Regions from separate parts of the Homo sapiens genome. Here all the other regions are linked to region 2. The links are contacts of gene promoters, found by promoter capture Hi-C in human tissues and cell types (Jung and others, 2019). All regions are on one chromosome and are shown on one strand. Each heading gives the region's core, a stretch centred on a gene start or on the middle of the fragment in contact. The rest is flanking DNA. Distances are from core to core; before and after follow the strand shown.

What was found. The method cuts DNA at HindIII sites, captures the fragments that hold promoters and counts their contacts. A contact is called where the count stands out against the background at its distance.
Region 1: a contact is called between the fragment with the promoter of TRPM2 here and the fragment with the promoter of PWP2 in region 2, in 3 of the 25 tissues and cell types used here (lymphoblastoid cells, spleen and thymus).
Region 3: the fragment with the promoter of DNMT3L here is called in contact with the fragment with the promoter of PWP2 in region 2 in 2 of the 25 tissues and cell types used here (lymphoblastoid cells and mesenchymal stem cells).

Annotation. Positions count from the first base shown.
Region 1 is chr21:44,352,303-44,355,002 of GRCh38, reverse strand. TRPM2 (transient receptor potential cation channel subfamily M member 2) reads right to left here and starts at 1,382. Exons shown (of 32, transcript NM_003307.4): 1 at 1,138-1,382; 2 at 267-355. The coding sequence starts at 1,302. RefSeq lists enhancers at 907-956, 1,117-1,166. The HindIII fragment of the contact is 21,861 bases long and covers 1-2,700 here.
Region 2 is chr21:44,106,021-44,108,724 of GRCh38, reverse strand. PWP2 (PWP2 small subunit processome component) reads right to left here and starts at 1,326. Exons shown (of 21, transcript NM_005049.3): 1 at 1,291-1,326. The coding sequence starts at 1,308. TRAPPC10 (trafficking protein particle complex subunit 10) reads right to left here. Exons shown (of 23, transcript NM_003274.5): 23 at 2,173-2,704. RefSeq lists silencers at 1,290-1,673, 1,264-1,780. The HindIII fragment of the contact is 7,831 bases long and covers 1-2,704 here.
Region 3 is chr21:44,260,570-44,263,269 of GRCh38, reverse strand. It overlaps DNMT3L (DNA methyltransferase 3 like), which reads left to right and starts at 1,373. Exons shown (of 12, transcript NM_175867.3): 1 at 1,373-1,530; 2 at 2,004-2,116; 3 at 2,431-2,475. The coding sequence starts at 2,011. RefSeq lists an enhancer at 1,099-1,658. The HindIII fragment of the contact is 12,940 bases long and covers 1-2,700 here.

The sequences.
Region 1 (2,700 bases), core at 133-2,632, 250 kb before region 2:
CAGTGCCCTTATGACCCTGAACAAGTCACCTAAACTCTGCACTTTGGTCCCTGCACCTGCGAGGCAGGATGAGGGTCAACTGTCCCCGACAGGAGGCTTGCAAGGGTTAGGTGGAAATGCTCTGTGGACTCTAAGCCTCGTATGGAGACAGAGGTATCTCCAGTGACCCTTCACTGAGGCCCTGAGGGGTCTTGGCCTGATCAGCTACTCCATGTGGGATCGGAAGGAAGAAGTCAGAGGTCTTACACACAAATCACGTCACTTACCCAGCATCAGACAGTTTGGAACTTTCCACAAAATACACGCATTCTTTCTTCTTGATGTTTTCAGGAATCCACGAACTGAGGCTTTCTTGCTGAAGGTAAAGACAGCACACTGAGATCTTCCAACATTCGAAAGAGCACACCCAGCCCCCTGGAGACACATCTGAGCTCCTTGAGGAGCTTTCACACTATTTGCTTGAAGGAAGGAAGCCTGCGCGACCCTGAGCCAAAGATTAGAAGCACCTTGCCAAGACTCTCCGGTGGGGATTCAGGAGGGAGGAATGAATCTAAGAAATCATTTCCTCTTGGGACCATTTTGAATGTGCGCGCACTTTACAGTTTCTACAGCACCACCACCTTCCTTGGGAACAACATGGTGTGGTGGAAAACGTGGAGGCTGGGGATCTGGGGACCTGGATCTTGCACCATCGGAAAAAGGGCAGCCACCCTCCTGCCTGCCTGGCAAGGGGACTGCAAGATGCCATGTGCTTTCAACATACTTGTGTCTTTGTATCCAGGGCTTTGGGGAAAGCTAGCCCAGGCCCAGGCCCTCCCAATCGGATAAAGGATGTGAAATCATTATGCAACAAGGTAAGCACGGGTAACAGATTTCCAGGACTCTAGCGCAACATTTTTGAGTTAACCCGGTGATTTCCCAATCAGACCAACCATGGGAAATGGTCATGCAACCCACAGAAGACGAGACACGCATCACCCTCCCCAGTTCTGTTCTCCCAAAGGTATGGTTGGGCAGGAGCCCCCAAGGTCAGCAGACCCTTTCCCACCCCCGTCGTCACAGCCTCAAGCTATGACCTGCCCAACGGTGACCTCCGTGGCCACGTGCCAACTGCAGGCTGACCAGCAGAAAGCCTACCTTGTCATTGTTGCCGAAGGGGCACTGTAGCCTCCAGCTCTTGAAGAGGCTGCTGTTGCTGCGCCGGAGATTGGAGACCATCCCCAGGTCAGTGACCCTTCTGGGCAGCCCCTCAAAGCCCTCCTCCTGCTCCGAGCCAGCTTTCCTCAGGGCTGAGGGCTCCATTCTGAGACCCCCACGCCAGCTGCAACCAGGCCTGCTGCCCTCAGGACAGTCCTCTCTCCAGCTCGCTACACTGGGGTTCTAGAGACACATGGGGTGGTTGCTGAAATAGATCAGAGACAGGAAGATGAGGCTGATGTTCTGAGAGGACCTGGCCACATGCTTCCTCATGTGAAGCCCTCATCCGGTTCTCTTCATCAGCCTGCACATGTTCCCAGCTGCCTGAGCTGTGTCCCTTGGCTGGGGCCCCCGGACACTCTGGGGGAGTACATGCACATGCGGGGGTCCCAGCGGCCGTTCATAATGGTAACAACCTCAGGTGACTGCAGGGCCAGAGAAAGAGCTCCCTCCCCCACGGGTGCAGCTGCACTGAGCACCGCACAGGGAAGTCTCCACCGCCAGCACCAGCTGCCAGCGACATGGTTTCGCAACTGTACAATTCTGCACAGCTCCTGCTTCCAGACACCAGTGACTACTTTCATATTCCAAAATTTTTTTAAATAGCCCTCACTGTCCACAAAGGAAGTTTCTTTTTCTTCTTGTTTTTTGAGACGGAGTCCCACTTTGTCGCTCAGGCTGGAGTTCAGTGACGCAGTCTCGGCTCACTGCAACCTCGGTCTCCCTGGTTCAAGTGATTCTCCTGCCTTAGCCTCCCCAGTAGCTGGGATTATGGGCGCCAATCACCACACCCTGCTAATTTTTTTTGTATGTAGTAGCAACAGGGTTTCACCATGTTGGTCAGGTTGGTCTCAAACTCCTGACCTCAGGCGATCCACCAGCCTCCGCTTCCCAAAGTGCTGGTTTTACAGGCGTGAGCCACTGTGCCCAGCCTAGAAAGGAAGTTTTGGGGAGTACCACATCTCTCCACTCCAGGAAAAAGACAATAATTCAAATGAATCTTTTTCTCTCATATCCTTTCCCCCTGGCTCTGATGTGGCCTTCATCACCGAGGCCACAAGAAGCCACCGGATGACTGCCCTCCCTTTACAAATGAGAAACATAAGCATGTTCAAGCCCTGCGGGGCCTCCCTGAGTCCCTGACACCCACAGTGTTCTCATGAGGTCATCCATGGTCATCCCCTGCCACTGCCCCAAAGGTGTCAAGGGGAGGGTTGCTGGGATGCAAAAGATCTGACTGGAATCCCCCCTCATCCCTGCCCTGAAACCAGATCTCTGGCCACGTCCTCTCCACTACACACGACGGTCACTGTCAGACAAGCCTTTGCTCTGCCGTCCCCTCATCACATTAGGTGACTGAGCCCCTCTTCGGGGCCACGCAGCTCGAAGCTCGGTGCCGGGCTCTTGGGGCTGAGCTACGGGCTGCTGTCCTGGGGCGGGCACTCTCAGGCAACCCCACCTCCCCCTCTCCCTCCTCCCCTTTGCCCCTTGGCCACACTCATT
Region 2 (2,704 bases), core at 77-2,576:
GGTGAAGAGGGGCATGGAGCCCACACTTCACCAAGAAAAAAGCTGCAACAATGGAACAGCACCCCAAAAGTGCTTAGAACTCAGGGCTTCCAGAAGTGTGGTAAGCCAGCATCCTATTTACTAACTCACGAGCACGAGCGTTCACTGGAGACTGCCATGCGCACAGACACGCACACCTTATATTCTCTCTCTAGCAGGAGGGGGATGAGAAGTGTGGGAGCAGGGGCTACTTTAGACGGTGGTCACGGAGAGGCACCTGGAAGGGTCACCTGAGCTGGAATCTAAATGGGAAGGCACCAGCCAGGCCCTGAAGCTGTGAGTGGGCAGCGCCCTCAGGACCTCAGGGAGGAGCTTGGTCAGCAGAAGGACTTTAAGCGGCCAGGCAGGCTCCAAGGCACATTTTTTGCCACCTTGCAGTAGGAATGTGGAGCGGATGAAGTCCTGGCCTGTGAGGACGTGGATATGGTTTCTGGTTTGGTGCTGGGCACACAGCGGTGGCTCCACCAGCACAGGGGACACAGGAGCAGCACTCTGAGGGGCCAGTACCATGCCCAGTTTCGGACAGGACAAGTGTAGTACACGGTGGGCTCAGCAGCAGGCGGCCCGTGCAACCCTGGAAGCGCAACGGTCAGGGCCACTGTGGGAAACACAGGCGTCCCCATAACCGGCCAGCTGTAGCAAACGCTTCAGAGACCCCCAGGCCGGCTCCACGGCCCCCTCTTATTACCTGTCTCACCCGCCTCCTGCACTTCACATCTGGGACAAGTCTTCCCTGGCTCTCAAAGCTGAGGGCGTCCGCCTCAGGAATTCCCTCCGGCCTCGGGAAACAGAGCTCACACCTGGGTTCCCCGCCCTTCCGCTCACCTGGACGCTCGCTCGTTAGGGACCAGTCCCGGGCCCCGGGTCCCTGCTGTTCTCACCCCGCCTGCGCGCGCCCGCGTCCCCGCCCCGTCCCACCTCCTCATCCCTCCCGAGGGTGCTGTGCCCTCCCCGACTGCACCAACTCCAGCCTTTAGGTTGGGCCATACTCAGGTTAAAAATATCCCGGGACCCCGACAAATGTCCCTGTTCCCTCCGAGAAGCCGTCGGCGCCTCCGTCCCAGCTCTCCCAGGAGCCCCACCACAGCCCCGCGTCCCCGAGGCCACGGGCGCGCAGACAGCCGGCGACCCCCACGCGGCCAGACGCCGCAAAAGCAGACCACGCGCCCCCAGCCCGCCCGGAGCCAGCTCAGGCGCCGTCCACCGGAAGAGCCGCGCCGATCCAACAGACCGCCCGCCGCCCGCGCTCACCCGGTAAGCGAACTTCATCACGGCCGTCGCACGTGTGCCGCAGCTCAACCCGGCGGCCGCCCACAGAGACACTTCCCGGGGGTCCGCGCGGCACCGCCCACAGCACGCACTTCCGGGAAGCGACGGCGTGCACCGCCCACAGCGCGCGCGCCCGGGACGGGGTCGCGCACCACCGTCCGCAGCGGCCCAGGAGGCAGGAGGAGCTGCGTCGCCCTCGCCCCGCCCCGAGGCGGAGTTTGAACGCGAGGCCCAACCCCTCCCAAGGCGGGGGCCTTCTCCGGGCCCCGCCCACACCCCGGAGCCACACTGCAGGGCGCCTCTTAGGCGCGCTCCAGCGCTGGGCGCGCTCCGCACGGACGCCCAGCCTGGCACAGCAGCGTCCACAACATGAGAGCGCTGCACACCCAAATGTCTTCGTTCTTGTGAACTGTTGGGTAAGGAATTATGAATAAAGTCCCGAATGCTGGCCGGTGCGGTGGCTCACGCCTGGGAGACTGAGGCGGGTGGATGACCTGAGGTCAGCAGTTCGAGACTAGCCTGGCCAACATGGTGAAACATCATCTCTACTAAAGTATAAAAATGAGGCGCATGCCTGTAGTCCCAGCTACTCGGGAGGCTGAGGCAGGAGAATGGCTTGAACCTGGGAGGCGGAGGCTGCAGTGAGCCCAGATCGCGCCATTGCACTCCAGCCTAGGCAACAGAGCATGACTGTCTCAGAGAAAAAAAAAAAAAAAAAAAAAAAAATAATCCGAATGTTTCCCAAAAGGCAAATAATCTATGCCCAAGAGTCAGGAACAAGGACTAGGGAGATAAAACAATAAAATCTTCACATTACATACTGTTGTCACACCATGTCGCAGCAAAAGATCCAGTGCAAAATAGTTTCTTCTTAAAATGTGTATTTTCAGAATTACAATGCTTACATTTTAAAGTCTTAATACAATGGTTTTAATCTAACAATATATTACATAATATGAAAAATGACTTTTCATAGTAAACCATGAAAATGGAATACCTGCAGTGTCAAAGTCACCAACTTGTCACCTTTTCCAGTCACAGAATCCCAACACATTGTATTAATGATGACTGGGGGGGGTCTTACAGCCTGATGTATATAGGATGAATAAATGTAGAGAAAGGAGCATTTTCATGAAAAATAAAATTTAAAAACCAGGTAGGATTTATTTTAAAGAACACAGTTGAAAGTAAAACATTTACATCAGCCCAGTTTGCCCTTTTGTAAAAAGTAGTATAGCTTTTCATTTTATATACAAACCTGCAGTGTCTGATTTCATTTTAAAACTTAATTTTAAGCACTAAAGAAAATTTGAATAGAAGCCTGTGTGTATTTTCTCTGCTAATTCTGTATGGGATATCTGGCATCTCCACTAAGAGTAATTAATACAGGATCTGA
Region 3 (2,700 bases), core at 124-2,623, 150 kb before region 2:
ACTTTCGACCAGCACAATTGTCCTGTGGCTCCAGCCCTGCCCGGCGGTCCTCCGCCCCCTGCTCTGAAGCCCCTAACCTCCCTCCAACAAAGTCCCCCTTCCCAACCCACCCCGCACCTCCCACACTGCCCCTCTGCCCACCCCACCTTCCTGCTCCCTTCCCTGCTTCCACGTTCCACCCCCACCCTGAACCTACCCCTCCCAGCTCCCCAACCCCCCACCTGCCCTGACATTCCCCACCCAACACCCCTTACCCCATCCTCCAGGGCCTTCCCTGTTTCCTTCTCTCCCCCACAGCTGCCCCCCAAACCTGGGGCTCCAGACTGAGCTCCCAAGCCCGGCTCCTGAACGCCCCTCCCTCTATCCCGCCAGAGGACCACCTCCCCTGAACACCCCCATCTCCTCCTCACCATCTACCCCCACCCCCACTCCCATCCCAACCGACCCTGAGATCCCTGAGGCCCATCCCCACCCCATTCTCACCCCTATCCTGCCCTAAAGGCCACCTCCCCTGAAACCCCCATCCTCGGCCTCACACCCCCATTCCTACTTTCACCCCGTCTCTACCCTTGCCCTGAGCCCCGACCCCCGCCACTGAGCCCTGCCCCGGAGTGCCCACCCTCACCCTATCATCACCCCCATCCCGCCAAAGGACCACCTCCCCTGAAGGCCCCCATCTCCAACTCAGCATCCACCCCCACCCCCACTCCCTAATCCCCCAACAGATCTCCCTAAGCCCCGCCCTCCACCCACCCACCCTGCCCTGAGGGCCACCTCCACTAATCCTCACCCATCTCCACCCAGGGGGCCAACTCCACCTAACCCCCCGCCCTGCCCTACCTCCACCCTCCACCCTCCACCCTCCACCCCTCCACCCCTCCACCCTCCACCCTCATCCCTTTCTTCACCCTTGCCCTGAAGCCCACCCCTATGACCTTCCTAAACCCCACCTCTGAGCGCCCTGCCCCTACCCCACAGCCACCCCTATCCCCCACCCCACCCCAAGGGCCCCCCTCTACTGAAACCCCCCTCATCTGCCCCATCCCCAGTCCTCCCATCTCCACCCCTCCCCTGAACCCCACTCCCCACTGAGGTCCCCAAACCCCACCCCTCACTCCACCCTGAGGGCCCCATCCTCTGAACCCCAATCCCCCAGCCCCACTGAGCTCTTAACCCTCCCCACCTGAGGGTTCCCTTTCCCTGCCCGTCCCCCAGCTTCCTAGCTCCCCACCCCAAGTGACCCCCCGCAGCTCCTCGCCCCTCCCACTGCAAACCGGCACTGAAGGGCTGCCCCGCCCCCGCCCCTCCCCGCCCCCGCGGGACACGCCCAGATTCTTTGCCCCCATAGCCTGGTGACCTCTGGCCACCCGCTGTCCCAGGTGGGCCTGGATCCTTCCAGCTCATTCTTTGCCTGCGCCGTCCCTCGTTCCATGGCCCAGTCCTCCCCGGGGACCCTGAGCCTGGAAGCCCCGGACCACTGGAACCTTGAACCCACCAGCTGGCTGTACCCGGAGCCGTGGCAGCAGCCCTGTGAGTCTCTTTCCTACTCCCTGACCATGCTGCCTTCAAGGGTGCGGCTGGCCAAGACCATCCCCAGGGGTCCCTGCTGGGCCTGAGGGACACTGTAGGAGGCTGGGGCATGGGAGTCCCTGAGGGGTCGAAGGCTGGGCCCAGAGGAAAGCAGGGGCTGCAGCGGCCATTGGCCCCAGGTCCTCATGAGGGCCCTGCCCTCCCCTTTTTGCCCCATCTTCCATGTTGTAACAGGGCCAGGCAGGTGGGGGGCACGCCTCAGGGGACCCTTGAGCCCCTCTCAGGGCTGGCACTGGCCTTGGCTGTCCTGCCCCTCATCCCTGGGTTGGGCAGGTGGGTGTCACCGCGGGGGTTCAGGTGGCCTGAACTAGTCAAGGTCTGCTCAGCAAGCTGCTTCCCGTGCTGGGGTGCATCAGGGATCTGAGCAGGGGCTGACGGCTTTCTCACATCTGTGTCCGTGTGTCCTGACACAGCATCCCCATGGCGGCCATCCCAGCCCTGGACCCAGAGGCCGAGCCCAGCATGGACGTGATTTTGGTGGGATCCAGTGAGCTCTCAAGCTCCGTTTCACCCGGGACAGGCAGAGGTGAGGGCTCATCTGCTTATTGGACCAGTCACTTAGGATGCTGATCCCAGGCCTGGATGAGGTCTGGAGTTCCAGGCTTCTGGAGTATTCATGCATTATTCAGGCACCCGGGCTGGGGCAGGAGGTTCCCCACCCACAGTCTTCCCCCAGGTATGGGCGTTTAACACACCAAGATAAGGTGTGAGGGCGGGATGGCAGGGGACCTCAGGCTCCTGTGACTTTGGAAAACGAATTGTGATGCTCACTTCCTGGCCGAATTTAAATTAAGAGATCAGAGGAAGAAGAAAGGGGCTACTTCTTATCTTCCTTTCCAGATCTTATTGCATATGAAGTCAAGGCTAACCAGCGAAATATAGAAGGTGAGTGTTTGCATACTGGCCCACACCAGACAAAAGAGACGGGGCACAGTGGCTCACACCTATAATCCCAGCACTTTGGGAGACCAATGTGGGAGGATCATTTGAGCCCAGGAGTTTGAGACCAGCCTAGGCAACATAGTGAGACTCTGTCTCTACAAAAAAATAAAAATAAAAATTAACCAGGCATGGTGGCATGCACCTGTAGTCCCAGCTACTCAGGAGGCT